Regions from separate parts of the Homo sapiens genome. Here all the other regions are linked to region 1. Evidence: promoter capture Hi-C in 16 types of primary human blood cells and fetal thymus (Javierre and others, 2016). All regions are on one chromosome and are shown on one strand. Each heading gives the region's core, a stretch centred on a gene start or on the middle of the fragment in contact. The rest is flanking DNA. Distances are from core to core; before and after follow the strand shown. Region 1 holds the start of CREG1 (cellular repressor of E1A stimulated genes 1). Region 2 overlaps POU2F1 (POU class 2 homeobox 1). Region 3 overlaps MPZL1 (myelin protein zero like 1). Region 4 overlaps POU2F1 (POU class 2 homeobox 1). Region 5 overlaps POU2F1 (POU class 2 homeobox 1). Region 6 overlaps POU2F1 (POU class 2 homeobox 1).

What was found. The method cuts DNA at HindIII sites, captures the fragments that hold promoters and counts their contacts. A CHiCAGO score of 5 or more calls a contact.
Region 2: a fragment that was not itself captured here is called in contact with the fragment with the promoter of CREG1 in region 1 in 1 of 17 cell types (naive B cells); the score reaches 5.2 in naive B cells.
Region 3: a fragment that was not itself captured here is called in contact with the fragment with the promoter of CREG1 in region 1 in 2 of 17 cell types (neutrophils and total B cells); the score reaches 10.1 in neutrophils.
Region 4: a fragment that was not itself captured here is called in contact with the fragment with the promoter of CREG1 in region 1 in 7 of 17 cell types (total CD8 T cells, naive B cells, naive CD8 T cells and 4 more); the score reaches 8.1 in total CD8 T cells.
Region 5: a fragment that was not itself captured here is called in contact with the fragment with the promoter of CREG1 in region 1 in 9 of 17 cell types (total CD8 T cells, naive B cells, total CD4 T cells and 6 more); the score reaches 6.4 in total CD8 T cells.
Region 6: a fragment that was not itself captured here is called in contact with the fragment with the promoter of CREG1 in region 1 in 1 of 17 cell types (activated CD4 T cells); the score reaches 5.8 in activated CD4 T cells.

Annotation. Positions count from the first base shown.
Region 1 is chr1:167,551,133-167,556,077 of GRCh38, forward strand. It overlaps CREG1 (cellular repressor of E1A stimulated genes 1), which reads right to left and starts at 2,630. Exons shown (of 4, transcript NM_003851.3): 1 at 2,256-2,630. The coding sequence starts at 2,609. RefSeq lists a silencer at 2,319-2,768. The HindIII fragment of the contact is 3,087 bases long and covers 1,523-4,609 here.
Region 2 is chr1:167,322,906-167,327,850 of GRCh38, forward strand. All of the region lies in intron 1 of POU2F1 (POU class 2 homeobox 1), which reads left to right. Among named protein-coding and RNA genes, the nearest start is that of POU2F1, 100 kb to the left of the region's middle. RefSeq lists an enhancer at 4,812-4,945. The HindIII fragment of the contact is 5,188 bases long and covers 404-4,945 here.
Region 3 is chr1:167,723,725-167,728,669 of GRCh38, forward strand. All of the region lies in intron 1 of MPZL1 (myelin protein zero like 1), which reads left to right. Among named protein-coding and RNA genes, the nearest start is that of MPZL1, 4.2 kb to the left of the region's middle. RefSeq lists an enhancer at 4,302-4,801. The HindIII fragment of the contact is 2,660 bases long and covers 1,099-3,758 here.
Region 4 is chr1:167,387,017-167,391,961 of GRCh38, forward strand. POU2F1 (POU class 2 homeobox 1) reads left to right here. Exons shown (of 16, transcript NM_002697.4): 9 at 2,572-2,745. Among named protein-coding and RNA genes, the nearest start is that of CD247, 130 kb to the right of the region's middle. The HindIII fragment of the contact is 2,184 bases long and covers 1,081-3,264 here.
Region 5 is chr1:167,405,534-167,410,478 of GRCh38, forward strand. All of the region lies in intron 13 of POU2F1 (POU class 2 homeobox 1), which reads left to right. Among named protein-coding and RNA genes, the nearest start is that of CD247, 110 kb to the right of the region's middle. The HindIII fragment of the contact is 3,104 bases long and covers 512-3,615 here.
Region 6 is chr1:167,423,031-167,427,975 of GRCh38, forward strand. It overlaps POU2F1 (POU class 2 homeobox 1), which reads left to right. Exons shown (of 16, transcript NM_002697.4): 16 at 1-4,310. Among named protein-coding and RNA genes, the nearest start is that of CD247, 93 kb to the right of the region's middle. RefSeq lists enhancers at 1,219-2,189, 2,190-3,160. The HindIII fragment of the contact is 670 bases long and covers 2,144-2,813 here.

The DNA of each region.
Region 1 (4,945 bases), core at 1,380-3,879:
AAAGAAAGAGACATACAAAAGAAACAGCCCAGTGGTAAGTACGTTTGAAGCTCACAACATATCTCTAAGTTACAGAGGACAGGTATTTTACACATGAGAAATGGTCCCAAACCTAGGTCTTTTTGTTCCTTCTGAACGATTTCACCCCCTGTCAATGAGAAGAAATGCAGAGCACCCTGGAGGTCAGGAGGAGGAAAAGAAAAAAGCAGAAACTTTGACCTGCTAATTGATGGAATCAAGTCAGACAAATTCTAATGTGGCCACTTCTTTTCACTGCCATCATGGAAACCTAAAGCCCTGGGTAGGTTCCTTGCCACTGCCCTGTCTATTTCTAGAAACATGAAAGACCTGGGCTAATGTCCTACCTGACAGCCATTAGCTGACTGGTCACAGGGTAAGTCCCTGCACCTCTGAGTCTGTGTTTCCTCACTTCCTAAATGGGGACAATAATACCAGCAACTCCCTAGTCACCTCACAAATTTAAATATGATTATGTATTGGTCAATCTCCCTCCTCCCCCATTAGAATCATCAGGGAGTGGTTTGTGGGGAGGCGGGAAGGGGTGTTGTCTTAAAATAAAATGTGCTTTCAATAAAATACCTTGGCATCCCATTTTTAAAGCCTTCTTAGGTGACTATGATTTGCAGTCAAAGTTGAGCACCACTGATGGAGTGGAGTGAGTTTGTTTTGAGCAAACGCCTAAAGGTGTGGAATGGGCTGGGAATAAGAAAATGGTGAACTGGGGTGTATCTGCCTTAGCTAAAAGAGGGCACTGCTTCTGTTTTTGCTCAAAGAGTGCAGGCCCACAGTGTCACTGGATCTTCCCATTTTTCAAGAAAAGTTAGAGATTTACATTTTAAAGTAAAATCTAAATTTTAAAATGTTGGTAACAAATTCAAATTTATTAAAAACAAAACAGAACTTTGTGTAGGCCAAACCGGTCTGTGGGACATATTCAGCTGATGGGCCACCAGCCTGTGATAGGTGGTTTGAAGAAAGATGAACCTGAGATGAAACTAGGGGTTTGCCCGCTGGCTTTAAACAAGTTACTTAACCTAGGTAGGCCTCAAGTTCTTCATCTGCAGAATGGGGTATATAATACCTACTTCAAAGAATTAATAGAAGAGACAACGAATGGAAGGCAAATGGAAAAGTGATTAATCAAGCATCAGTTTCTTGCATCCTGTCTTTATCAACAATGTTGTACTTTCAGAGTTGAACTCAAATGTGAGAGCTTTGTCAAAAAGACCCTCCATCAAATCAGGCTCCATTCCTGGACTCTGTGTGTCTCCGGCCTCCCAAGCTGGGTGTCTGTGACCCCATCCCTGAGACAGCAGAGATCCATCAGAGTTGTAAGTGTGGCCCTGCACCAGAAGGTGGGCAAAGGGCGAGGAAGAGATACACCTTCAATCAGCTCTGCATCTTACTGAGGAGCCACTATGCCTGTGGAGGCCTAAAGACTGCAGTAATCATTGTAATCGTCCATGATATTGTACGTTAGCGTCTTGCTGCAGGAGGGAAAAGCTTAATTCAGGAAGGGTAAGAGAGTGAGAAACCCTGAAGTCACATATTAAAGTGCTTAAGTACCTAACAATCTCTATGCCCTGTAAAACCTTTAAGAATAGGAGCCCAGGCAGGGCGCGGTGGTTCACGCCTGTAATCCCAGCACTTTGGGAGGCTGAGATGGGTGGATCACGTGAGGTCAGGAGTTTGAGACCAGCCTGGCCAACATGGTGAAACCCCGCCTCTACTAAAAATACAAAAATTAGCCGGGTGTGGTGGCACGCACCTGTAATCCCAGCTACTCGGTAGGCTGAGGCACGAGAATCGCTTGAACCTGGGAGGCAGAGGTTGCAGTAAGCTGAGATAGCGCCACTGCACTCCAGCCTGGGCCACAAAGTGAGATTCTGTCTCAAAGGGAAAAAAAAAAAAAAAGAGAATAGGAGCACAGTTAATAGAGACACTGGGCCCCAAGACGACTGAGAACCACTCACGGATGAGAAGTCCTCGGGCTGCTGGCAGAGAATTTACCCCAGGTGCGTGGCCCAGTGGCGGAGGCTTGTGGGAAATTCCTGGTACCCAGCTGCCCAACATCTGGGACGCTGCAACGCCCACCTACCTGCCTGCGCGGCAGAGAAGCAACAGCCGTTCGAGCCACGCTCCACTTCCCGGGAAGAATTCTGGGGAGAGTGAAGGCTCGCTCTGTGGCCGCCCCGCCCACAGCCCGCCTGGGGAAGCCGCGGGCCCCAGCTCACCTGCAGGTTGCTCACGGAGAGCTGCAGCGGGCTCAGGTAGAAATAGGGCACGCCGCTGCCCGCGCCCGGGGGCCCGTCGCTGAGCGAGAGGACGTCGGCGAAGGGCCGGCCGCGCACCGCCTCCAGCGTGGAGATGGTGGCCAGAGCGCCCCAGTCGGAGACGTGCGTCACGAAGCGGGCCACGCGCGCCGCGTCCTCGCGGGGTGGTAGCGGCGGCAGCCGGGAGGCCTCGTCCCAGTCCCCGTGGTCCCGGCCGCCGCGACCCCGCGCGGGCGACACGAGCAGCGCCAACAGCGTCGACGCCAGCAGGGCGGCGAGCAGTGCGCGCGCGGACCCGCGGGATAGCCCGGCCATGGCGGTGTCTCCAGGAAGAGTCCCGGGCCCCAAGACCTGCAGGGACCCAGCCGGAGCTCGGCGCGCCCAGGCCCCGCCCCCTCCGCGAGGCGCCAATCAGAGCTAAGCACAATGCAGGGGGCGGGGTCCCTCTGCAGCTCCGCAACCTGCAGGAGAAGGGATTGGTTCATCTGCATTCCAATCGCTCTGCCTGCCCTCTTTAAGGATTGTGAATTTGTCCTAAACGGGATATTTGTTTTGTTTTGTTTGACAGGCGGAAAAAGAAAGGCTTGAAGAAATCAAGCAACTTGCCCAAATCGTACTGCTAGGAAAAGACCAGCCTCTTTACACAGGCACACACCCCCTCCTTTTAATACCTTTGGAGATGAATATCTGGCATCTGAGAGGAAATGCTGCATTTTCTACCCATGCGCCTCTTTTCTGTTGAATTTACCATCAGCTCCAAAGAACAGCGAGGGTCCCAGCGTTGTAGAAGCCCAGACTCAGGCTCGTGTACCCCATGTGTAGCTGATGCCAAACACTGACATATAGGTGCTTGGAGATAAAAGTTTATTCGATTTGGCCAAAGCGAGAAGGCGGGAGGGCAAGATCTCTCAAATCCGCCCTAACAAAAAGAAGAAGCAGAGAGTGTTTATGCGGCCAGCGAGTCAGGGAGGGGGAGTTTCAGGGAATCGAGGGAAAAAGTCTGTGTTTCTTCAGTCTCAGATAATTCCTTGAACAATCAGACTTCTGGGCGACAGAAGCTGGCCTCAAAGTACTTCAAAGGACTTATTCCTCCTGCAAACTTTTTCGTAACCCTGAAGTTATTATCTCCTCCTGCTTGATAAAGAAACAGTACATCAGCAGTTTATGATTATGTTGTAGGAACAAGGGATATTGGGCAAAAAGAGAGTTGTCAACATGTGCAAGCAAGGGCCTGATCAGAATTTTCATTATTTCAGTCACTAACAAATGCTGGGGTGCTGAAATCTCAAGGGGCCCACTTACACTAGTAGTAAAGTTAGGCAGAAGCCCGAAAGTTCAAGACCTTTAAAAAACTTTTTATTTACTTATTTTAAAATTTTTAATTTTTGTGGGTACATAGTAGGTGTATACATTTATGGGGTACATGAGATATTTTGCTACAGGCATACAATGCATAATAGTCATATCAGGGTAAATGGGGTATCCATTGCCTCAAGCATTTATCCTTTGTGTTACAAACAATCCAATTATACTTTTAGTTATTTTAAATGTACACTTAAATTATTATTGGCTATAGTCACCCTGTTGTGCTATGAAATACTAGGTCTTATTCTAACTATTTTTTGTACCCATTAACCATCCCCACTCCTCCCCTGCAAGTCCCCCCACTACCCTTCCTGGCCTCTGGTAACCATCCCTCTACTCTCTGTCTCCATGAGTTCAATTGTTTCCATTTAGGCTCCCACAAATAAGTGAGGATGTGTGAAGTTTGTCTTTCTGTGCCTGGCTTATTTCACTTCACGTAATAACCTCCAGTTCCAACTATGTTGTTGCAAAGACAGACAGGATCCCATTCATTTTTTATGGCTGAATAGTACTCCATTGTGTATATATACCACATTTTCTTTATCCATTCATCTGATGATGGACACTTAGGTTGCTTCCAAATCTTAGCTGTTGTGAATAGTGCTGCAGTAAACACAGGAGTGCAGACATCTCTCAATATACTGATTTTCTTTCTTTTAGGGATATACCTAGCTGTGGGATTGCTGGATCATATGGTACCTCTATTTTTAATTTTTTGAGGAACTCCAAATTTTTTTCCAAAGCGGTTATTCTAATTTACATTCCCACCAACAGTGTACAAGGGTTTCCTTTTCCCCACATCCTCACCAACATTTGTTATTGCCCGTCAAGACCTTTTAAACTACTGGCCCAGGAGTCCCTCATATAGACGCACAAAGGGATTGTTAGTCTACTATCAATATCCCATGTACAAATTTGAACTTACCAGTTCAGGACCTGTTAAGACATTAAGCTTGGGGTCGGCGGTTTCATGAATTTATTGCCCCCGCTGCCCTTCCCTGCTCCATGTAAGGGACATTCCTTTTGCTTCTTCTAAGATGGCCTGTCTCATTCTCTCACGGGTGCTCCTGATTCTGCTATTCTGGAAACTGGTCAATAAGCTCATAGCACCTGGCCTCCATTCTTTATGACTTTAAGCTTTGGTCACGTCTTTTTGGAGCAAGTCTTAATCTTTTTGGCCTGGCCTCAAATTTCCACTGTAATTGTTGTTATAAAGACTGTATGGTGGTGTTAGTGCAAGAGTTTGTCATCTTGTAAAGCTGGCTCTGGCAGACACCTGGCCCTGT
Region 2 (4,945 bases), core at 1,748-4,247, 230 kb before region 1:
AGCGGTTTTCCACACTGGGTGAGCCAAGTGTTCCTTGCCGTCATTCCGGTAAACCAACAACCTTCAGCATGGGCGTCGTAGCCATCATGAGCATGTCACAGTGCTGCAGAGATTTTGTTTATGGCCATTTTGGGGGCCTGTCTATGGCCAGATTTGGGGGCCTATCCTCAACACGTTCTTGTCTTCCCAATTCCTATGCCTGTGCCTGAAAGCACTTAGTAAATACTTGTGGAATCCATTAATGATTGAAATCAGTGACTTGGCAAAACACTTTAAACTAGAATGAAAGAAAGACAGTTATAGAAGTAAAGAAACAGTATGGTAAGATAGGATCATGTAGGATAGGCTAGACAGATAAGTTTAGTGAAATGGTAAAACTTTAATAGAGCTACACAAAGATTTAAGCTTTTACAACCAAGAAATTCAGGATTGGATTTTGTAATAGATTTAGTTTTAAAGAATGCCAGATTGTTAGAGTGAACAGTAGATGAGCTATGTATATAGCTGTAAAAATGTAATATAGCACAGGTTAAAAGAGACCAGAAACATGTCATTTCAAACCGCTTTCTGGTGGAGTAGCTTTCTCAGTGAGCCACCACTTAAATGACTTGATGAGATTAACTGACAGCCCATTCCTGTTTGATGCACTATCTGATTCCCTATAGCATGCTGAAGACTTATTCCATGGTATGTCTACCAGTTGAGTTGTAAAGTTATTAAGAACCATTTACTTGTTTGTGCTCCCAATACTGTTCATGCTAGTTGTACTAATTTTAATCACACTATTTATTTATTTATTTATTTACAGATGGAGTTTCTCTCTGTCACCCAGGCAGGAGTGCAGTCACGCGATCTCGGCTCAATGCAACCTCCGCCTCCTGGGTTCAAGCAATTCTCATGCCTCAGCCTACTGAGTAGTTGGGACTATAGGCGCATGCCATCACGCCTAGCTAATTTTTGCATTTTTAGTAGAGATAGGGTTTCACCATGTTGGCCAGGCTAATCTCGAACTCCAGAGCTCAGGTGATCCACCTACCTAGGACTCCCAAAGTGTTGGGATTACAGGCATTAGTCACCGCACCCAGCCTAATTACACAATTTAAATAACTATATAAACCAAGGAAAAGAATAGAAAAAGAAAGATGATGTTTCTGTGAAAATTAAGTTAAATGCTTTGGAAAGATTTGATAAAGGGTAATTACTAAAAAATACTGAATTAGATGTGTGCAAGAGAGCTATAAAATAGTAGGGATAAATTATTCTAAAAAAATAGAAAAGCATTATGGACTCAGATTGCCTCATGTGTCATATAATTCTTGCCCCACTTTTAAAGCAGTGTTTTTTAATCTATGAGACATGAAGTCAATTTAATAGGTTGAAGTCTAGAACACATCGCAATACATTTATACCTGGAAAGAAGCATTGTTCTATGGAACTTTTCTTGAGTTTTTAGTATTTAGTCTATACATATATGTACAATGTAAAATGTGACTTTCAGTGAAAAACGTAAAAATCTTTTGAGTTTTTTATCCAAACTCAAAAGGCTTTGGCCCAAAAAAATTGGTGAATGAATGTGTATTTATATGCTTTGGGTTAAAATACAATCATTATGTACTTGTGTTTATGATACTTAGGTTGACCATTTTGTTCAGCCAACCAACTACTGATCTCAGTCTCATGGGATAAGAATTTTTACATATTTTATTTTACTTGTCTTCCTCTCATGCCCTCCATATTGTGCCTGAGTCCCCAACCCCCACCATACCTCGGCTCTCTGTTTAGTAGCTATGTGACCCTAAGGGTCATTAACTAGGCCTCAGTTTACTTTTTATGAAGTAAGATTATCCTTCAGATTGCTTGTTATTTGGCAGTGCTTAATAGCCACGTTGATAAAGTACATGTCTTTCATGGTATCTGCCCATCTAGATTTTTAGTAAATGATAGACATTCCGTTAAGTTATTCTAAAAGATTTTTGGTGGGGGGAGGGGACACTGAGAGCCCCATAATGCAACCTTAGAGGGTATCATTTACATAGTCTGTGATGTAGTTGACAAGAATGGTGGCAGTGCCAATACCTATCACTTGATTCTGAGTCTCAAATTTTCAAGTCCTGGAATGTTGTTTCATATTTGGTGGGCATTAGTAAAATTATTTTAGTTTGTATGTGTGTGATGGGTTTGTTGGACTTTTTTTGTAAATAATTATTGATAATGCTTGAGGTACTAAGTATTTTTATTACAGAGAATTGAAATATCATTAAGTGTTTTCTGTAAGTAAGTTAATAGGACACTAAATTATTGGTAGATTGGAAAAGAGATGAAGGTTGGAAAGGATATTGGTGTACTGTTGAGATTGGCTGGGGTGAAACCAGTGGTGCTAAAAGATGCAGACACCCCCCATGATATAGAAAGGAGGTAACAGGCAATAATTGTTGAGTCAGACATTTCTGCTTGTTCAACTAGTTATATGGTCAGTACAGAATAGAGGGTACAAATGGCTATTCATATAGAACATGACCAGGCTGGATGTTAATGATTTAGTAAGGTAGAATATAGGCCGATCTCAGTTCACTCTCACATAAAAGGTGTGTTTTAAAACACTAGTTTGTGATTTAGTTGTCATTGCCCTCAATTTCATTTCTAATGATACCTACACTGGCCCATAAGATCATGAATATAAAAATATTTTAATACTAGTAGTGTCGGCTGGGCATGGTGGCTCATGCCTGTAATCCCAGCACTTTGGGAGGCCAAGGTGGGCGAATCACGAGGTCAGGAGTTCGAGACCAGCCTGGCCAACATGGTGAAACCCGTCTCTACTAAAAATACAAAAATTAGCCTGACTTGGTGGCAGGCGCCTGTAATCCCAGCTACTTGGGAGGCTGAGGCAGGAGAATCGCTTGAAACTAGAAGGCAGAGGTTGTAGCAAGCTGAGATTGTGCCACTGCACTCCAGCATGGGCAAAAGAGCAAACTCCATCTCAAAAAAAAAAAAAAAACTAGTAGTGTTAACCGTGAATTCTGGGTCCTGGAAGAGCGTTTGTCCCCTCTTTTAGAAAATAAAAAAAGGCTACATTTTAGGCGTAATTGTGAAATACATGAGTTTGAATTTGCCCTTTCAGCTCCTTTTTATACTTCCATATGTTACTACTATTTCCTATTATTACTACCTTCTATGAACCCTTTGCCCACATTACCCCACCCCCAATCCAGGTCCTCTAAACATCAGTTATTTTATCATTTATTGGCCTCTTCTCTAGTAGAAACAACCATTGCCTTACAATCAACTCCTCAACTAGGTGTTAAATGAAAGCAGTGGGATTGGATTAATTCATGCTCAAGTGTGAATGACTGACAATCCCACAAACCTCTCAAAAATGATTTTCCTTTGTACAACGGGTGTTCTTTCTAGGTTAAGTTTTAGTCTAATTGATTCTTTGCTATTATTTCAGACAGATGACCAAGTGAAATGGACATTTGAACTTTGTGGGAAAAGCTGTCATTTTCTTCTTTTGGACATAAATGTGCCATGGTTGGGGAGTACAGGCAAGAGACGGTGACAGTCCCTCTCCCAATCCATCTGTAGAGGCTTGGACAAACTCCTGGTATTTAAACTTCCCCTCTAAAATTAGTAGGGTACCTAGGTCAAGGGTGGTAGAAAGGGACTTTTCTTGCCTTTCCTTCCCACTGTAGCAATGTGAGCTTTTTTTTCTGGGTGAGCTTTGCAGTAGAGGGGAAGCGGGGGGTCCCACTCTAGATAGTAGCCTGTGTGGGCTGGTAAACTATAGCCTCCCTGCTACAGGTCTTGTGGGACTCCCTTAGCCTGAGGAGGAGGCTCTTTCACTAGGAAGGTGCTGCTCCTGTTGGGTACAGACACACTCCTTTGTTAGCAATGATTGTCTGGCTGCAAGTCATCCTTAGCTAATATATGAAAGACCACACTCACAGTAGAAAGGTAGTTTAGAGATGTTATTACATAAAGTAGAAAAGGGCAGATGGTAAGTTGCAGAAATATCCCATAATAAATGCAAATAATAAATTTTAAATTTCGTAAAGGCGGAAGAGGAGGGAAATAAACATTTATTGATATCTACTGTAATCTAGTCACATTCATCATTGCTTTTCATCTTTTCTCACCAAGGAGAATTTGTATAATCCAACATATTCTACCTTAAAAACTCATTTGAAATTTGTGTTCTCTTCTATAATGTATTCTTATTTTAATACAAAGTGGTGTGAAATATTAAATAAGATTGATGCTTTCAAAAGATGGACATGTTTATCCAGTGACTTGATGTCTGCCCTGGCACAACTGCATCACATTCCTCCAGTCCACGCTCTTGTCTGAGAAGCATGAAAGCATTTATCTCACAATAACCTCATGAAAGGGATATCATCATTTTATAGGTGATAAAATTAAGGCTCGAAGAAGGAAGGAACTTAAACAGGTATTACAGGTATTAAATGGCTGTGTTAAGTTTCTCCCCCAAAGTCTCTCCTCATAAGCATTTTGTGATTCAGTAAAACAGAAAAACTGGTAATGCAGAGTGCTGATCCAAAAGTTTAAGGTTTTTGGTCCTCTACTGACTTGCAAGGGAATCTTTTTAAAGGCCCCTTGTTAAAATCTGTCTTTCATTTCCTGAAGACTAGTTCTAAATAAAAACAGTTATTAATGGGCTGACACCTTTCAGAACTCTCCTCAAATCTAGTGCACTCTTCTGTGTATCTGTACACACCTGACTTTTAAACACAATGTCTTTGCTGCCGTTTACTGGTTTCTTCACTACACGGAAAACAAACCATTCAGTCTGCTGCTTTACCACCTCTCAGCAATTCCCTACGTGTTTAACTCATCCATAATGCATAGGAATAGCCAAGAGCACAGATTCTGATATCAGAAAATTCTAGTTTTAAATCCTGATTCCGAATTACTAGTGTGACATTGG
Region 3 (4,945 bases), core at 1,179-3,678, 170 kb after region 1:
ATACAACTTGGACGTAACTCTTCAGTAATGAAGATGAATGTTGATATGTAAAAATCAGCAGCTGATGTTATTGGTTCAACTTAGAAAATTATTGAATCTAAAATTCTTGCCAAATCACCTCTTTTCTGGTCATGGATACTGCACATAAGAGTTTATCTTTTACAGGATAGCTTCTAAAGTTTTATCAAGACAGTTACTCAGCAAACATTCACTGAGCACCTTTTAAGTGCTTAACACTTAAAAGGTGGGAGGTTAGGTCTCACTGTGTTGCCCAGGCTGCTCTGGAACTGAAACTCCTGGGCTCCAGTGATTCCTCTGCCTTTTCCTCGCAAGCAGCTGGGGCTACAGGTGTGTGCCACTGTGTAGGGTCAGAAGCACATTGGTAAAGATGTACTGTGGGAGCTTGAAGGAGGGTCATTATCTCAGACTGTAGTTCAGGCTACTGGAGGAAGGGAGTTTAAACTGGGTAGGCATGGGGGAGGGGCAGAAGTACATACAGAGTTATGAATGAACCTGTTGGTAGTTCAGTATAGTGGGAGGTTGGAGTGTATATAAGGGGAATGGTGGGAGTTGAGGCAGGAGAGCCTGCCAAGGGCACCAGCTTACAAAGGGCCTTGTCTGCCACACTTAATCCAATGAGGATTTCTCTGTCTATTGAGATGTGAAGGATGGGTTAGAGTGGGGTGAGGCTGAAGCCAGAGAAGGCAGAGGACTATTGTAATAATCCCGGGGAGGATGATGAAGATCTGAATTCAAGCATTGGGCTATGAAGAGAGGACACATGTTGATGCGCCACTTAGAAAGTACGTTTGATAGAGCTTGGAAACATTGATGCAGGCTTGAAAGAGGAGGTGGATAAAATGATCATAGGTTTTGGGCTTGGGAAGCTGGGCATATTTTTGGCCTTTTCACAGATGGGGAAATAGGAGTCTTGGGGGAAGAAGATGATGGAGATACTTTTGAATATGTTGAGTTTGAGATGCGGGTAAGACATCCAAATGGAGATGGGCAGAAAACAATTGGATAGACAGTTCTGGAGGTGAGGAGAAAGTTCTGGTTGGAAATGGAGATTTAGAGAGTTATGTGGCTAATAGTTAAAGCTTGGATTGTTTGGATGAGGGCATCCAGGGAAAATGCACTGAAGAACATAGCAGAGAGCCAAAGACGGAGTTTTGGGGTATATGAAACCTGACAAAGAGTCTCTGTGAGTAAGAGAAAAACCAGGTGAGTTTGGTATTTCAGCATTGTCAGATGAAGAGAGATAAAATGTGATAAGAATTCACTGAATTTGGTAATTGAAATGAGCACATAGTATATGAGGACTAAATCTCAGTAATTTGTACCATCCATGTCAGTAAATGGAACCTCCATACATCTAATTGTGCAGGCCAGAAACCTAGGGTCCATCCCTGATTCTTCCCTGTCCTTCACATCCAATCAGTTCTCCCATCTTTAAAATGCATCTGGAATTGATGTTTTTTCTACCTCCACTCCTAGCCTTTTAGTCAAAGTCACCACCATTTCTTGCCTATATTACTGTGATAGCCTCCCAGCTGCTCTTCCTCTTTTTCCCCCTCTGGAGTCTTGCTCTGTCTCGCCCAGGCTGGAATGCAGTGGCACAATCTCGGCTTACTGCAACCTCCATCTCCCAGATTCAAGTGATTCTTCTTGTGCCTCAGCATCCCAAGTAGCTGGGACTACAGGCATGCACCACCATGCCTGGCTAATTTTTGATTTTTCTATTTATTTTTAAATTTATTTTATTTATTTATTTTTTGGGGGATGGAGTCTCGCACTGTTGCCCAGGCTGGAGTGCAGTAGCGTGATCTCGGCTCACCACAACCTCCACCTCCCTGGTTCAAGCGATTCTCCTGCCTTAGCCTCCCGAGTAGCTGGGACTACAGGCGCATGCCACCATGCCCAGCTAATTTTTGTATTTTTTAGTAGAAACTGGGTTTCACTATGTTGGCCAGGCTGGTCTCGAACTCCTGACCTGGTGATCCACCCGCCTTGGCCTCCCAAAGTGCTGGGATTACAGGCGTGAGCCACCACATCTGGCTGATTTTTTTATTTTTAGTAGAGACAGGGTTTCACCATGTTTGCCAGGTCTGGAACTCCTGACCTCAAGTGACCGGCCTGCCTCAGCCTCCCAAAGTGCTGGGATTACAGGCATGAGCCACCACGCCCAGTACTCATCTTGGTTCGTTTTAATCCATTCTTCACAAAACTGCAAGAATGATTTTGTTAAAATGCAAATCAGATCATGTTGCCTTCTTTTTTAAAATCCTTAATGGCTTCCCATTGCACTTGGAATGAAATCTAAACTTCCCATGGCCTGAAAAGCTCTTTGTGATCTGGTTTCTGCTTACCTCTATGACCTCAACTTGTACCACCCACCACCCCTTTCTCACTATATTCAAGCCACACTGCCATCTTTCTGCTCTGTGACACTCATTCCCACCTCCTAGCCTTTGAACTAGCTGTTCTGATGTTGCCCAGGGCTGGCTCCTTTCCATCACAGAGGCTCTAAGTTTCACATCTTTAGAGAGGCCTCTCTGACCACCTTATTCTAGGGTACTTACCTGTTACTATTTGCTGGTTTGCCGTTTACTTCCTTATTGTAATTTCTATATGGTTTTTCTTCTCTTTTTTTTCCTCCATCAGAATCTGGGACAGACAAATCATCTGTCTTGTTTATAGAAGTATTCCTAGTGCTTAACACAGTGGATATGGTAGATGCTAAAAATATTTGTTAAATGGCAGTGAGGCATAGGCATGTCTTGACAACAGTTTGTTAGGAGTTTGCAATATGTAGTTATGATTTAGCATGGTATAGTAGGTCCTCAATATGTGTTTATGCAAGAAGAATATTTTTCCAAAGTGTGATTTCATGCACTGCTTATTTCTCATTATCAGTTCCCTTGGCCTTTTACTTATTTACTAGTCAGGATAGTAAAATAGAAACTTAGTCTTATAAAATATGTATATTTTTTACTCCAACTCCAGGATATCCACTAGGCTTAGATGCTGCCAAAAGAAAAAGATAAATGTTAAGTGAAAGACAGCTATGTGCAAAAGAACATAAAATGCAAGTTTGTGTTTTCATTAAGTCTAATTTATTTACTTATTCAACGTAAATGAACACCTACTGGGCACAAGGCACTGTTTATGTATGGGATGCAGCAGGGAGCCTAGATGCTAGTGAGAAGTGACAGACAGGAAACATCTACTCAAATAAATAATACCAAAGGACAGATTAAATTCCCAACAATCACAACTTTTAAGAAAATATGATTGATCTAATATGAAAATTTGCAGCAAATTTTTGAAAAATGGAACATCTTATTTGTATTATAAAATATTTTTAAAACTTATAAGGGATATGTTATAGGGTTTCTTTAAAGATTGGTCTTTCCCACTGAGTTTTAAAAACATGATTTAATTGGGAAAAACATAGCTTTTCAGAAATATTGCTGTTTCCCCTCTATCCAGTAGATGCTGGTCTACCTACTAAATATTTCTCACCATCCACTTTGCATCCACACTGGAGCTAATATAGTACAGCCACAGTCATGTCTCTACTGGATGATTAGAGCCTTCTAACTGGAGCCTGACTGTTTTTGAGTTATATCTTTTATCTGAGAATTTGAATTATTTGTGTAAGACATACATCTCATGTGTACCTCAACCTTGGAAAGATTTTTAATCTTGCTCTCTAAGACCACAGATGTCATTTTAAAAGGGAGAGTAAAATGGTAAGCTTTGGCATATAATTTATTATAGATTAGTCTTTAGCCCCATCGAAGACGGTATAATTATTAGAAGAACTAGAAGCATCTCCTGAGGTCTCAAGTGTCATATGGCTCTGAGACTTGACCCCTAAGGCTGGTGATATTAAGCCTTCATGTATCTTGAATGATATTCCTTTTTTCCTTTTCCACTCTTACTTTGCTAAGTCGTTTGACATTAGCAGTGCCCTAGAGTCCAGACAAAAGTCTTTGGAATTTTTGCTGCCGTAAGAAAGCAGAGGTCAGTTGGCTCCGTTCACCATAGTGCATAAATTGAGAAATTGTGGTTGTCTCCTGGGATCTTTATATCTTTGCCTTTAAACCCCTTTGTTTATTCATTATCTTTTTTCTTTCTTTTCCTTTTTTTTTTTTTTGAGACAGAGTCTCGTTTTGTCGCCCAGGCTGGAATGCAGTGGTGCAACCTCGGCTCACAGCAACCTCTGTCTCCCAGGTTCAGTGATTCTCCTGCCTCAGCCTCCCAAGTAACTGGGATTACAGGCATAAGCCACCACGCCCAACTAATTTTTTTTTTTTTTTTTTTTCTGAGGCAGAGTTTCACTCCTGTTGCCCAGGCTGGAGTGCAGTCGCGCCATCTCGGCTCATTGCAGCCTCTTCCTCCCACGTTCAAGCGATTCTTCTGCCTCAGCCTGCCGAGTAGCTGGGATTACAGGTGCCTGCCACCACGCCTGGCTAATTTTTTTGTATTTTTAGTAGTGATGGAATTTTGCCATGTCGGGCAGGCTGGTCTCCAACTCCTGACCTCAGGTGATCCACCCAAAGTGCTGGGATTACAGGCGTGAGCCACCGTGCCCTGCCCAAATTTTTTTTCTTTTTTTTCTTTCTTTCTTTCTTTTTTTTTTTTTTTTTGTATTTTTAGTAGAGATGGGGTTTCACCATATTGGCCAGGCTGGTCTCGAACTCCTGACCTCAGGTGATCCACCCGCCTCGGCCTCCCAAAATGCTAGGATTATAGGCATGAGCCACCGTGCCCAACCTATTCATTGTCTTTTTCAATGCATGTGGCTACTGTAATTTTTTATTCACTTAACAATTTTTTCTTGATCCCATTAGGCCTTTATCCAAGATGATTTCATTGATAAATCCTCCTTCAGTAGGTTTCTTCTTCTAAACTCAGAGTCTCTAGAAACTGTGATACC
Region 4 (4,945 bases), core at 923-3,422, 160 kb before region 1:
AATGGTGAATTTGTGAATATGCTGAATGCAAGAGTGAGGTTGGGATTTTGAAAAAAGCCTATACCAGAGACTTCTTCCTGGCCTCCGTTCTCTGCATATGGTGGCAGGGCCGTTGTGGCTTCATCCTGACTCCTGCTCACTGAATTCTACTCTGCCATTTCTAGATCTGGCCCAGTCCAGCCTGAGGTTTCTGGAGCTGGGGTAACTTATCTGTAACCACCCCATCTAAAGGTACCCAAGCGATTTTTAGTCCTTTATTATTTGAGAATGGGGCTACTTCAGGCCCGGAGATGAAGTAACAATGTGATAGTTAAGACTCACCTGTAACTGTCAACCAGTTTCGCTGTGAGAAATGTACAGCTACATAGGGGTCTGCTATGGTTGGTGCTCGTTTTGGCTCCTCCAAAATGGTCAGGTTGAAAATTACGCAGTGTCAGCATGACATAGAAATGAACTTTGTTATTGTCATTGAAACAGGATAAGAGAGGAACTTAACTCCAGTTGTCGCCTGTGTAATGCTTATTCTGTAGTTTTCTGGGACAGTTAGTTCCTTTGGAGGAAGCCTTGACTCATAAGGTAAAGGTCAGGCTTATATAACTCATCTAAATTTGAAGAAGAAAAATTCACAGCCACAGACTTTATCTGTAATTCTGGTTTATAATCGCTCACCTGGGCTACTCTTCACAGGAGGAGTCAACTGAGCAACTAAGATGCAGTCAGGCAGTGCCTCCCACTAGTGAGGTGTGTTCCACTCAGGGCTTGTGAATAGAACAGAATAACCTTAAGTTTGTGTGATAAGAAAGTAGAGTATTTTATTTTTAAAAAGAGACTATACCCTCATGTCCCAAAATAAACTATACATGGATTTAAATAATCAAATATTCAACAAAGAAGAAGCTAGCAGATTAAAAGGAATTTTATCAATGTTAGAAATAAGTGAAGCTTTCTCAGATTTGAAGTAACAGGATATATTAGAAAGGAAAATTAAAAGCTCACCCAAATGACAATTTAAAGGTTTATGTACCCTGAAAAATAAAAGGAAGAAAGCAAATTGGAAAAGCATTTGCATTAATATGACAAAGCTTCCTTTATAAAATTTGAGGATCTCTCTAAGGATAAGGATGAGAATAAATATCATTAATATATAAATTGGTTAAGGACGTAAATCCAATTCACATTCAAAGAAATACAGATAATAATTGACACATGGGAAAATTTTGACATTGAGTAGTAAGAGAAATACAAATTAAAGCAGCAGGGAACTACCATTTACTTCTTGAATTAGCAAAACATTTTTTAAAACTGCTAACGTAAGTCATGTGGAAGAGTGTTGCATAGTGGGAACCAACGTTATGATATGTATCAAAAACCATGAAATTGTTTATCTAGTTACCAGAAAAGCCCTTGAGAATTTATCTCAAAAGAACTAATTACACACATAGGTGGAAAAAATAACTAATATGCATAAAGTTTTTCATTGTGTTATCTATGTTAGTGAAAACATAAAAACTGTCTAGCAATTAAGAACTGGTTAAGTAAATTATGAGAATATTGCCTTAGTTTTTAAAAAGGATAACTATGAAAACTGAAATACTCCTGATTTCAGTAGTCCAAGCTATCAAAGAGTAAGTCAGTGGTAGTGCTTAAAACAAATAAAAATGCTATATATCCAGACAACTATTTAAACCATTAAATATATTCACTCTTCTTTAAAAGTCCTCGGTTAGCTGACAAATTCCAGAAAATTAATTTGGATTTTGGTTAATTTGGGGTTTTCATCTTCTATAGATTCTTGCTCGATTAACTGGTGTTAGCATAGGCTTAGAGAGTATGTGTGCCTGTGCTTGCATGCCTGTCTCCATCACCCTCTCTCTTCCAAAAAGTTATTTTTATTTTTAATTTTTATTAATTTTTATTTTTTAGAGACAGTGTCTTGCTCTGTTAAAACAACGTTAAATAAGAAAAGCAGAGAGTAAAATTTTGTATACCATAATTACAGTGAAGGTTTAAAGATATAGGTCCTTGGGGAAAAAACTGGAACAGATATACAAAAGCGAAACCTGTTATAAGCTATTTAAACTGCAGGTGGTTTACTTTTCCCCCTTAATGATTTTGAATTATGATCTTGAATACTGTTTTTATAATACTGTGTCACAGGTTGGAGATGTAATAGTGGTAAACAAGACAGATATGCTGTCTACTGTTTTGACAGTTGAAGTGCTAGACTTATGAAATAGATTTTTTGAAATAAAGAGTAATTTATTAAAAGACATAAGATATATGTATTCAGACCATTTGAAAACCCAGTTATAATAGGTTTCATTTTTGTGTATTCATTTCATTTTTGTGTATTCATGTTTTTTCTATAGAATTACATAATTACTTGTAATTACAGTATACATAATTTCACTGTCTGCTTTGCTCACTGAACATTATGTTGTACATTCTGTAGTGTTACATGGTCTTCATCGTTATCCATAAATGTGGCTCTTTCCTTCAGTTGTTTACTTGGAGTAAACCTAAATATCTCTTCACGTGTTTTTCCTCATTGTTTTATTCTTTCTCCAACAGCCAGCAACCCCAACACGCACAATAGCAGCAACCCCAATTCAGACACTTCCACAGAGCCAGTCAACACCAAAGCGAATTGATACTCCCAGCTTGGAGGAGCCCAGTGACCTTGAGGAGCTTGAGCAGTTTGCCAAGACCTTCAAACAAAGACGAATCAAACTTGGATTCACTCAGGTAGGGTGAATTGGCCTTACATTGATTCCCCTCCTTGGCTGGGTCCAAATACAGTTGGCTCTCTGTATTCATGGATTCCACATCTGTGGATTCAACTAGTCCAAAATATTTGGGACGGGGGACGAAAAAGGATGGTCATGTCTGTACTGAACATGTATAGACTTTTTTCTTGCCATTATTTCCTAAACAATACAACAATTTACATAGCATTTACATTATATTAAGTATTATAAGTAACGTAGAGATGATTTAGAGTATATGGGAGGATACACGTATGTTATATACAAATATACATTTTATAATTTGGAGGACTTGAGCATCAGTGGATTTTGGTATCCAAGGGAGGTCCCGAAACCAATCCCCTGTGCATACTGAGGGACAACTGTATTTGCTTTACATGTCCAAAGAGGCTTCTAAGATACAATATGTTCCTCAGCCATGTTGTTTTTTGGTTTTAAACTGCACCTTTTTGTTAGCCTTTTCCTGCATTTTTAATGTATGGTTTAATGTTAGTCTAGAAGCTTTATGATTTCTTTCAGAACACAGGCCTCTGAAATCATAATTATATCACTAAATTGTGAAGACTTTAAAAGATTGTATGGAGGATTTTGTTATTTGAAGAATATCTGGTGGTAGACCTCAGTACTTCATATGTAAGATTGAGAGAGTAAAGATTACGGGGTGTATTATATTAGCTAAAAGGGGAAAAGTTTAGAAGGCTTATTTAAAAACAGTTTTTTGTAGTGGGGGCAGTAGCTCTAATCTGTAATCCCAGCACTTTGGGAGACTGAGGTGGGAGGATTGCTTGAGCCCAGGAGATGGAGACCAGCCTGATCTCTGGTGGGACCCTGTCTCTCCAAAAAGTAAATAAATAAAAAATTTAACTGGGTGTGGTGACGCATGCCTGTAGTCCAAGCTATCAGGAGGCTGAGGTGGGAGGATTGCTTGAGCCCGGGAGGTCGAGGCTGCAGTGAGCCATGATTGCTCCATTGCACTCCAGCCTGGGTGACAGAGCAAGACACTGTCTCTAAAAAGTAAAAATTAATAAAAATTAAAAATAAAAATAACTTTTTGGAAGAGAGAGGGTGATGGAGACAGGCATGCAAGCACAGGCACGCATACTCTCTAAGCCTATGCTAAAACCAGTTAATCGAGCAAGAATCTATAGAAGATGAAAACCCCAAATTAACCAAAATCCAAATTAATTTCCTGGAATTTGTCAGCTAACCGAGGACTTTTAAAGAAGGGTGAATATATTTAATGGTTTAAACAGTTGTCTGGATATGTAGCATTTTTGTTTGTTTTAAGCACTACCACTGACTTACTCTTTGATTAACCTGTCATAAATAATATATTTTTTTAGAGACAGGGTCTCGCTATGTTGGCCAGGTTGGTCTTGAACTCTTGGCCTCAATCAACCCTCCCGCCTTGGCCTCCCAAAGTGCTAGGATTACAGGTGTGAGCCACTGCGCCCAGCCTGCAAATAATACTTTTAAAGCAGGCAAGGAATTAAACTGAATGAAATTTATGTAAAATGGTATAAGATCATTAGGTAAAAAAAAACTGAAGTATGGATTAGACTGGGTGCCTTTATGGAATCAGGAGAAATCTGTTATTTTCTTTCCAGGGAATATAATTTAAAGTTTTTAAGCCACTAGTTAAATATTACTCAAATTATTTTGTGTTGAAAGTACGGTAATGCTCCACCTGGCCTGGTAGGTCAAAATCCAAGGGTAGCATCCCCAAATGTACTATGGGTGTTTTTAAGAACACATTTATATATATCTTTATATATATCTTTTTTTTTTTTTTTTTTTTTTTTTTTTGAGACAGGGCCTTGGTCTGTCACCCAGGCTGGAGTACAGTGGCATGATCACGGCTCACTGCAGCCTTGACCTCCAGGGGTCAAGGGATTCTCCCACTTCTGTCTCCTGAGTAGCTGGGACTCAGGCACACCACCACACCCGGCTAATTTTTGTAGAGACAAGGTCTTGTCATGTTGCCCAAGCTGGTCTCGAACTCCTGGGCTCAACCAAATCCACCCACGTCAGCTTCCCAAAGTGCTAAGATTACAGGTGTGAGCCACCAGGCCCAGCCCAGGCTTATATTTCTTTGGGAATTCATTTTTGCTCAAAGAAATCAATTGTGTTGGGGAATATGTAATGATTTTTTAAATAGGCATGATTTTAGAGGAAATACA
Region 5 (4,945 bases), core at 814-3,313, 150 kb before region 1:
CAAAATTAGCCAGGCGTGGTGGCACGTGCCTATAGTCCTAGCTGCTCGGGAGGCTGAGGTGGGAGGGTCACTTGAGCCTGGAAAGTTGAGGCTGCAATAAGCTGAGATTGTACCACTGAACTCCAGCTTGAGAACAGAGCGAGACCCTGTTTGGGGGAAAATAAAAAAAAGCCGTGAAGGATATACAACATTTGAGCACTATCAACCAACTTGTTCTAACTGCCATCTGCAGAACACTTGGTCCAGCAACAGCAGAAAACACATCCTTTTTATGTACACATGGAACATCCATCTCCCAGGATACTTTTAGCCATAAAACAAGTTTCAGTAAATTAAAAAGGATTAAAATCATACAAAGTGTGTTGTCTGATGACAACTGAGATAAACTAGAAATTAACAATAGAAAGAAATTTGGGAAGTCCCCATGTATTTGAAAATTAAAACATGCATCAAAGAAGAAATAACATTTCTCCTCTATTTTCCTATCAGGCCGGTATTACCCAGATACCTAAGCTTAGATAAATAGCACAAGAAAAAAAAATTACAAACTCATATTCCTCGAGAAAATATAAACCAAAACTCTCAAAAGAATCTTAGCAAGTCAAATCCAGCAACATACTGAAAAAATCGAACGATTATATACATCATGGCCAAGGAGGATTTATCTCCCAGGAATGTATGGTTAGTACAATAACTGAACATCAATTAATGTAACACATTATAATAGTAGAAGAAAGGACAAAAACCACATAATCATCTCAGTGGATACAGAAAAGATATTTGTAAAAATCCAAAACCCATTCATGATGAAAGCTGAAATACAAAGGAACTGCCTCACCTGATAAAGAGCACTTACTAAAACTCTCCAGCAAATAGAATACTTAATGGCAAAAGACTGAATACTTTCCCCACTAAGATTGAGAATTAGGTAAGAGTGTTTGTTTGCTCTTGTGGACTTCTGATTAACATCGTCCTGGAGGTTATAGCCTCCAGTAAGGGGGAGAAAAAAAACGGAAGACAATTTGGAAAGGAAGAAGTTAAACTGCTTGTATTTGCATTATTCTATATGTATAAAAATACTAAGGAATTCACCAAAAAAAGGTATCTAGGACTAATCAATAAATTCAGTATTGTTGCAGAATACAAGATTGATATATAAAAAATAAATTACATTTGTATGTACTATCAATGGACAGTTCAAAAATGAAATTTAGGAAATAACTTGTATGTAACAGTATCAAAAGAATAAAATACTTAGGAATAAACTTAAAAGAAGTGTAAGACTTGAACAATGAAAACTACAATTTGCTGAAAGAAGTTAAAAGAAGTCTAAATAAAGAGACATTTCATATTCCATGTTCATGTTTTGGAAGACTAAGCATTCTTAAGATGACAGTTTTTCTCCAGCTTGAGATATATGTGCATCTCTCTTTCTCTCTGATTTCAAGGTTTATCCACATTATAGCATAAATATATATTTTTTTATTTTATTTATTTTATATATTTTATTATTATTATTATTTGTTTTCGAGACAGGGTATTGCCCTATCACAGTGGCGCAATCACATTTCACTGCAGCCTCAACTTCCCAGGCTCAAGCAGTCCTCCCACTTCAGCCTCCCCGGTAGCTGGGACTATAGCCACATGCCACCCGCCCAGCTAATATTTGTATTTTTTGTAGAGACGAGGTTTTGCCATATTGCCCAGGCTGGTCTCGAACTCCTGGGCTCAAGCAATTCACCCACCTTGGCCTCCCAAAGTGCTGGGATTACAGGCATGAGCCACCATGCTCAGTCTTCCAGCTTGATTTATAGATTCAACAAAATCATAGTAAAAATTCCAACAGGTTTTTTCTTTGTTTTGTTTTAAAGAAATCGATAAACTCTTGGAAGGGACCAAGAATAGCCAAAACAATTTTGAGAAAGAGTGAAATCAGAGGATTTTCATGTCCTAATTTCAAAGTTTACTGTAAAGCAACAATAATCAAAGCAGTGTATTACTGGTATACATATAGATATATAGATTAAATGGAACAAAATTAAGAGTCCAGAAGCAAAACTTTAAATTTATGCTTTATTGATTTTTGACAGAGGTGCCAAGGCAATTCAATAGGGAAAGGACAGTCTTCAACAAATGGTTCTAGGACAACTGGATATCCATATGCAGAAAGAGGAATAGAGGAATTTAGATCCTTACCTTACACCGTGCATAAAAATTAACTGAAATGGATCAAAGGCCTAAATATAAGAGCTGAAACTATAAAGTTGCTAGTAAATAAAGTAGGACAAAATCTTTGTGACCTTGGGTTAAGCACAGAGTTCATATACACAGCACCAAGAGAACGATCCATAAAAGAAAAAAAAATTAGTAAATTCAGCTTCATCAAAAGTAAAATCTTTTGTGCTTCAAAAGCCACAGACTGAGAGAAAACATTTGCAGATCACATATCCAATAAAGAAATTGTGTCTAGAATGTATAAACAACTCTTACAACTCAATAGTAAGAATATAAACAACTCAGATTTTTAAATGGACAAATGTTAGTAGACATTTTACCAAGGAAGATATAGGAGTGACTAGTAAGCACATGGAGAGATATGTGACATTAGCATTACTCATTAGGGAAGTGCAGATTAAAACTGTAATGAGATACTACTTTGTACTCACTAGAATGGCTATAATCAAAAAGACCCAAGATGATAAATGTTGGGAAGGATGTGGAGAAACTGGAACTTTCATGCATTGCTTGTAGGAATGTAGAATGATACAGCTTCGGAAAACATCTTGGCAGTTCTTTTAAACATAAATTTACCGTCCTACCCAGCAATTTCCCCAAGAGAAATGAAGACATTTCTACACAAAAACTTCAATGTGAATGTTTATATAGCAGCCTTATTTATAATATCCAAGAACTGGAAACAAACCAGTGCTCATCAACTGGTGAATGAATAAACAAAATGTGTTATATCTACACAGTGGAATATTATTCAGCCATAAAAATTAATGAGGTGTTGATTCGTGCTACAATGTGGATGAACCTTGAAAACAGAATGTTAAGTAAAAGAAGCCAGATGCAAGAGACTACATATTGTATGATTCCATTTGTGTGAAATGTCCACAAAAATCTAGAGACAAAAAGCAGATAACTAGGTAGGAGTGTGACATGATTACAAACAGGCACAAGGGATCTTTTTTGGGAGTGGAAATGTCATAATCTGGATTGTGATGATGGTTGTATAACTGTAAGTTGATTAAAAGTCATCAAATTTTAAAGCTGGATGAATTTTCATGTGCTTACTAGTCACTCCTATATCTTCCTTGTTAAAATGTCTACTAACATTTGTCCATTTAAAAATCTAAGTTGTTTATATTCTTACTATTGAGTTGTAAGAATTGTTTATACATTCTGACACAATTCCAGTTCCTTTATTGGATATGTGATCTGCAAATGTTTTCTCTCAGTCTGTGGCTTTTGAAGCGCAAAAGATTTTACTTTTGATGAAGTTGAGTTCACTGATTTTTCTTTTCTTTTATGGATCATTCTCTTGGTGCTGTGTCTGTGAACTCTTTGCTTAACCCAGGGTCACAAAGATTTTGTCCTACTTTATTTACTAGAAGCTTTATAGTTTCAGCTCTTATATTTAGGCCTTTGATCTGTTTTAGTTAATTTTTATGCACAGTGTAAGGTAAAGATCTAAATTCCTCTTTCTGCATATGGATATCCAGTTTATAAGTTGTATCTCAATAAAAGCTGTTTGAGAAAAGACAAGACAGGGCGGGAAGCACAGGGAAGTGCCAGGTACTATATACACACCTTGACTATAGCTTCCTACTGCCCCTGTGAGGTGGTTGGTGGTATCTTATTTTGCTGTTGAGGACATTGAGGCTCAGCAACAATAAGTTCACTAGTCAAAGTTACCCAAGTAATTAAATTGCCAAGTTGCCAAGAATTTACAGTCATGAAATACATATATTGATGAAAACATGACTCACTGACTGGGATAATTAATTTGAAGATAATTTTAAGTTGTTATACCATAATGCTTATTTATATAACATTTATATTGGAGACGCCTAGAACAATTTTGAATGCTTCTGGAGTCATCATCTTCTGGCCTAGGTTAAATTCACTGATAAAATTTGACTGGGATTTTCTTTGTAAACTTAAGGGATTTAAGAAAACAGTTGGTGAATGATTTGAAGGTGGCTGGAGAGTAAAGAAATAACTATTTTAAGCCTTTTGAGCTCAAGATATTAGGACTTATAAAAATAGGCAATTCAATTTCAGAACTTTGAAAGGGAAGTAGTACCCATAGGTAAAATCAGGTTAGATAAGGTGAGAAATTGGTCAAAAAAAGATTGAAAGTACATTGAAATTGCTTAGCATGGAAGAGAAATAAAAGATGTTCACCTTACTATGTGACAGGGGGCATGTCTTAAGAGAAGATTAAAGCGAAAAAGGGTATATGAATCTGCCTAACACAGGACCCTACACAGCATCCAGTGTTCAGTGGTTGATTGTTCTGAGAGATTTAGAACCAAAGAAGTAATGAACGAAAATAGGATTCATAGTATCTACAAAGATGTAATGATATTTAGGGGCAGTGGCAATAAAAATAAATCACTTATATTTTTCAGAAGGGTAGACAGAGGAAGAAAGCCTTCCTTTTTATTTAACAATAAGAACATTATGTTTACCTCATTCATTTGGCAGCCACTTTTGCACAGCTTTATAGGAGGTGAAGAAAGTAGTCAGTGCTGAAATAAATGATGTCTGAGTCTCTCCCAACCCTGTGACATGTGATAAAAACTGAAGAGTGGAAGTGAGAGTTCAATTCTAGATGTTCTTAGTACAGACCAGAAGAAGGTTTTAAAACAGATTTTTGGAAGGACAAAATTGCCTGAATTTGTAACAAGATTGTTATGAAAGAAGAGCATGTTCTGAA
Region 6 (4,945 bases), core at 1,229-3,728, 130 kb before region 1:
GGGGTAGAATTTTTTCATTATTTCCCTTTATCTAATACTTTTAAATAGAACCAACACAGCCTATATGAGTTCAGACAATATTTAGATGTGGTATCTCCATCTGTCTCCTGTAAAAGATAAGAATTTTCAAGAACAGGATTACGTGGAAAACCAAAAGATCTTCCCTTACTCTCCTATAAATGTTTTGTTCCAAATGTTTTTATATATGGGCTCTAGGGAGTCAGGTAGTTCATTGTTTCGGTGTACTATTGATAGGACACAGAAAGGGAGAGAGGGTAAAGAAATGTATCACTCTCTGAATATTGCATCAAAAATGATTAGGTTGCAGAACTTCATGAAAGCTTTACTAATAATCTTATTGTTCTGACATTATGTAAAGGTGGTATTAATATTGTATGACTTGTCAAAGTGCTAGATAGGTTTATAAGTAGGTAATAGGGATGTTGAAGATTAGAGCACTTGAAACAGAAGTTCTGGGAAAACAAGGTGTGTGTAATGGAACACCACTTTGAGCACAGAAACAAAGGTCCCTTGGACCTGGTAGGGAAGATGTGATTTATGATTGTTTCTGTGTCCCTGTATCTGCCCACCCTGCACAGGGCTCCACCACCCAGGGCCACCTTCTGGTTTAAACCCAGGACACTGTCAAAAAGTTAAGACCCCAAAACTAATTTACTGTAAAAAACATTGAGGACTGCTGCAAAGTTTTCCCTTGTTTTCTTTGTGTACTTGTTCATCATTGTATAAGTTAGCCACAGCTTCACAAGAGCAGCTTAAGGCTTCTTTCATAAATTGGCAGTGGCATTGAGTTCTCAAACATTATATCCCAAAGTCTGCAGGCAGACAGCTGGATACAGCGCTGTGTATAAATGAGACGTCCAAACACTTGAGTTTCTTAAGATTGGGATCTCTTTCAAATGAAAAAGGACAGAGCCAAGTAGAGAAAAGACTTTGTGCTCCCACCCAGCCTTAATGAGTCTCATGGTCTAAAAGTATAGGAAGAAATGAAATGCACTTTCAGAAGCTAAAATGACAGTGTCTGCTACAAAAGGCTGTAGTTGTAGGCAGTCGGGGATGCCATGTCCTTGGTTCCATTCCTGCGTGAGTCTGCAGAAGGCACACACTTTGTAAGAGTAGAGTGGACTAGTGCCAGCCTGAATAGGTTTAAAACTGCAAACAGTTGGAGAACATGGAACAGGTTGGTGCAGGAAGCCTAAGATTTTGCAATCATATTATAACATTGGCTTTTGACAACATAAATGTTGTATCTTCCCTAAGGTCAGGTCGGGGAAAGAAAGACTTCCAGCTTCTTACCTCTGCGTGCATGGGCACGTGTGCATTGCTCAGTCCGCAGGAGGTCTCACTCCGCAGGAAACGCTCTCCTCCCGCATAAGTCTGTACTTCCATCCCCTCATCTGTGGTAGTAGTGAAGGCTAGGTGAGTAAGCGTGGGCTGTTCTACCCACCAGAAGTCCAGGAGCTGTTGTATACCTCATTTCTAACTCGTGACCGAGTGACTTGCTTTAACTTTCTCGAAATCCTACAGAGTTGCCAAGTCTGCCCTCCCTCCTCAGTCATGTTAAACTCTGGCCTATAGCATCATGGGACCTGTAGCCTAGGGTGGGACCCCCTAAAGCCTCTGAATGTCGCTGCTTAAAAGCTACTGCAAACTGAGGGCAAATTGCAATCTTCTATTCCTTTTTGTTGCAAGGGGTCTTCACAGGTCTCTTAACATCTGCTTTCCCTGCCACCCTGCCTTTAGGGGCTGGCCAGCTATCCACACCCCTAACCCACCCTGTGTTTCTGACAGCTGGCCACACGTCAACTTCTGTACTTGCCTTTTCCTTGGTGGGGTAGAGGCCAACCCCTTCTCCTCTGAGGCCTCAGGGTTCTGTTTCTTTTCAGGACTTTGGGTAGAAGGGAAGACACCAAAGGCTCCTTTAAGCTGACTGCTGCATACACATTTCACTTTTTTTCCTTTGACATGACCAAAAATATCCAAATATTTAAGTTTATTATTATTATTATTATTATTTGACAATCTTATATCCAATGGGCTCTCTAGAAGCTGCATCCCCAGCCCTTTCACCTTTTCTTTGAATGTAGTTCCCAACCTTCAATTCCCACCCCTAATGCTGACAAAAAGCTTAGCCAGGTCATGATACTGCTGCTATAAGCCAGGGGAGGGTGGTTTCTTTGTTTTGTTTTGTTTTGTTTTGTTTTTCAAATTTCCAGCCAAAACCAAAGATTTCTTAATGATTGTATAAACTCAAAACAAACAAAAGAACCAAAGAAAAGGGAAGTCTTCAGCATCAGTCCAGTCTGTGGTGTCCTGGCACTTAGAAGAGTGAGGCCAGGGAAGGTGGGGCGGGGGGACCCTCTGACTGGATCAGAAAGGGCAGGCAAGCTGCTTACCACCTTCCAGGGTCCAGCACAGGTGCATGCCCCTAGCTTTGGCCCTCACAAACTTGTGAGCATGCCCTGAAACAAATTGGCATTTCAGATTTTCCAAAACAAAAGTCAAAAAACCCCATCACCACCATCATCCACCCTACACCAACCAGGGTCACTATGGGGACTTAGCACAGGGCCTAGGGAGGGTGGGAGCTGCTGCTGGACTGGCCCGAGGACTCCACAGAGTGGGGGACGTTGAAGACACTGGCGCACGATTGGCTGCTCTGCTGGGTGCTTTAACCTCTGGGGCTGGGCGAATGCACGCCACGGTGCCCTTCTGAGCCTTTTTTTCTTTTCCTGTACTGGAACTGCTTGGAAGTGGCTGTCCTGTTTGTGAGAAAACATGCAGAAAGATTATCAAGCTTTTCATTTCTCTTTATTGTAGTTTTCTTTCCTTTTTGCAGCACCACTGTGCAACTATGCATTGTACTTCACAACCTTTTGTGCTAGGTAGATGCCTGTGACTTTTTAACTTGGGGGGTGGGGGGATTGCAAATGAAGGAACTTTTTACATGGATCTTTTTAATCTCAGTTGGTTGGGGGAGGGGGGTACTTGGTTCTTGGGTCACACAAGCTCTATCCCAAAGCAAAATCCAAATGTTAATAATATTAGCCTGATGCAGATACCAAAGATAATTTCTTTCCTGCAGAACCTTAGACTCGTGTATTAAGTACGATTACCCAGCACTTGCATTAGTCTAACCTCAGTAATTCCAAAGCTTAGATGTATATTTTGGTATATTTCTGGGATATTAAAAAAAAAATGTCGTTTAACTTCTTGTTTGTTTCAGTGTAATGCTCTTAAAGTCATAGCATGAAAATAATTGAACTGTCCTATTCTTAGTAGTTTGAAATAATAGTATTTTTGTATGTTTTGGGTGTGTCTATGTATGTATTAACATAACAGTTTTCACTGCCTAGGTGTTCATAATAAAAAAGAAAATGAAAAAAGTTCTGAGTGTACATAATATTCAATAATAATCTCCCACCAGGTGTCAATTTAGATTGCATATTCCTCATTACTGTTCCCAACTGGGATTTTGTTTTCTTTTAAAGAGACAGTGATCGTGTTTTTCTAAAGATGTTTTCTTTCTCTCTTTCAATATCTTAACTCACTTTTTTTTTCTTCCTTTTTTGTCTTAATTATTAATTCAGGGGTGTTTGTCCACTGTTGTCAAAGGAGGGGCACAAGGGGAATTGGCCCCCGGCCTCCTAGAACTTTTTGTTTTATGTACTTTAAAATGTGAGTTTGAGTTCTTCTTTGTGGAAACTTAAGATGTGGTGTAAATGATTCTTTCCAAAATTGTCCAGCAGCTTGAATGAGGCAGTGACAATTCTGAGGTGGTTTATTGGGAGTCCTTCTACATTTCTCTTAGATAACTCTGCACTCTGGGTGGCTATTGTGTAGCCTTACTGCCCCAGAGTGCCTGTTAGCCAAATATTTCCCCTCTGATAGGAATATTTTCTAAGAATCAGCTGATAACTTGCGTGCTGGACCTTGTTATCTGTGCCCCTGGGAGACACACGTTTTCTTGGTTTTGAAAACCTGAAACACAGGCAACTTTACATTTTGGGGAATTAGCTGATGCCTCCTGAAGCCTGAGGAGGTGGCGGGGAATATGAGCGGTGCTGTCTCTCTCAAAAGTGCCCTTTAGATGATTCCCCCTCCTAGGGCTGCCTGCAGGGGCTGTAGGCTTGGGAAAGATTGTGTAGGTGACAGTGAATCAGAATGAAGTGGTAGATTTTGTGTAGATGCATTTGTCTGCTGTAATTTTTTATATATATATTAAACTTACTGTAACTGTACAGTTCATTTCTGTTGTAAAACATCATTAAACCATCTTCCAAGTGTTTTCACATTGTTGGAGTTTCTTTGAAATTGCTGTGTTGGTATTCTGGATGCTTCACATACAGATTCTCAGACTTCGCATAATTCAGCTTCCAAATTGTTTTTTCCAAGTGCTCTCAGGAACCCCAGAATCACCATAAGCACCCTGGTTCCTGCCCCACTCCACCCTTCCTCCTGCACTCCAGGAGGAGCTATGGCCACTGCATTTCTCCCTCCCAGACCCTCAGTGTGGTTTCGTGGGACCCTGAGTAGCAGTAGTCTCCCTCAGGCCCAAGTACTTTGTGTGATCAAACACGCAGGCCCATGATTGATCCTGCAAGGGAGCTCTTCAAAGCTCCATCTCACTGTGTATTTGACTGCAGAACTGGGACCGAACTCAACTTTTTCCAAATGTATTGTTTAAACTGCACTGCCCCTCTAGCATTTCTTGCCAAGTCCTGAACATTCACTGGGTGGGGGCCGGGTGGGGGGTCCTCCGAAGGAAGGTAACCCTGAACTTGGCATCTGGTCCTCCTCCTGTTCGAGGCTGCACAACTTAGCTTCTTCAGACTTATAAATACCACTTAGCATTTAGTGTCTTACTACAATTCATTCATTTCATGAAAAGTAAAGTTTGAATTTTAAAATGAATTCCCCACAGAGA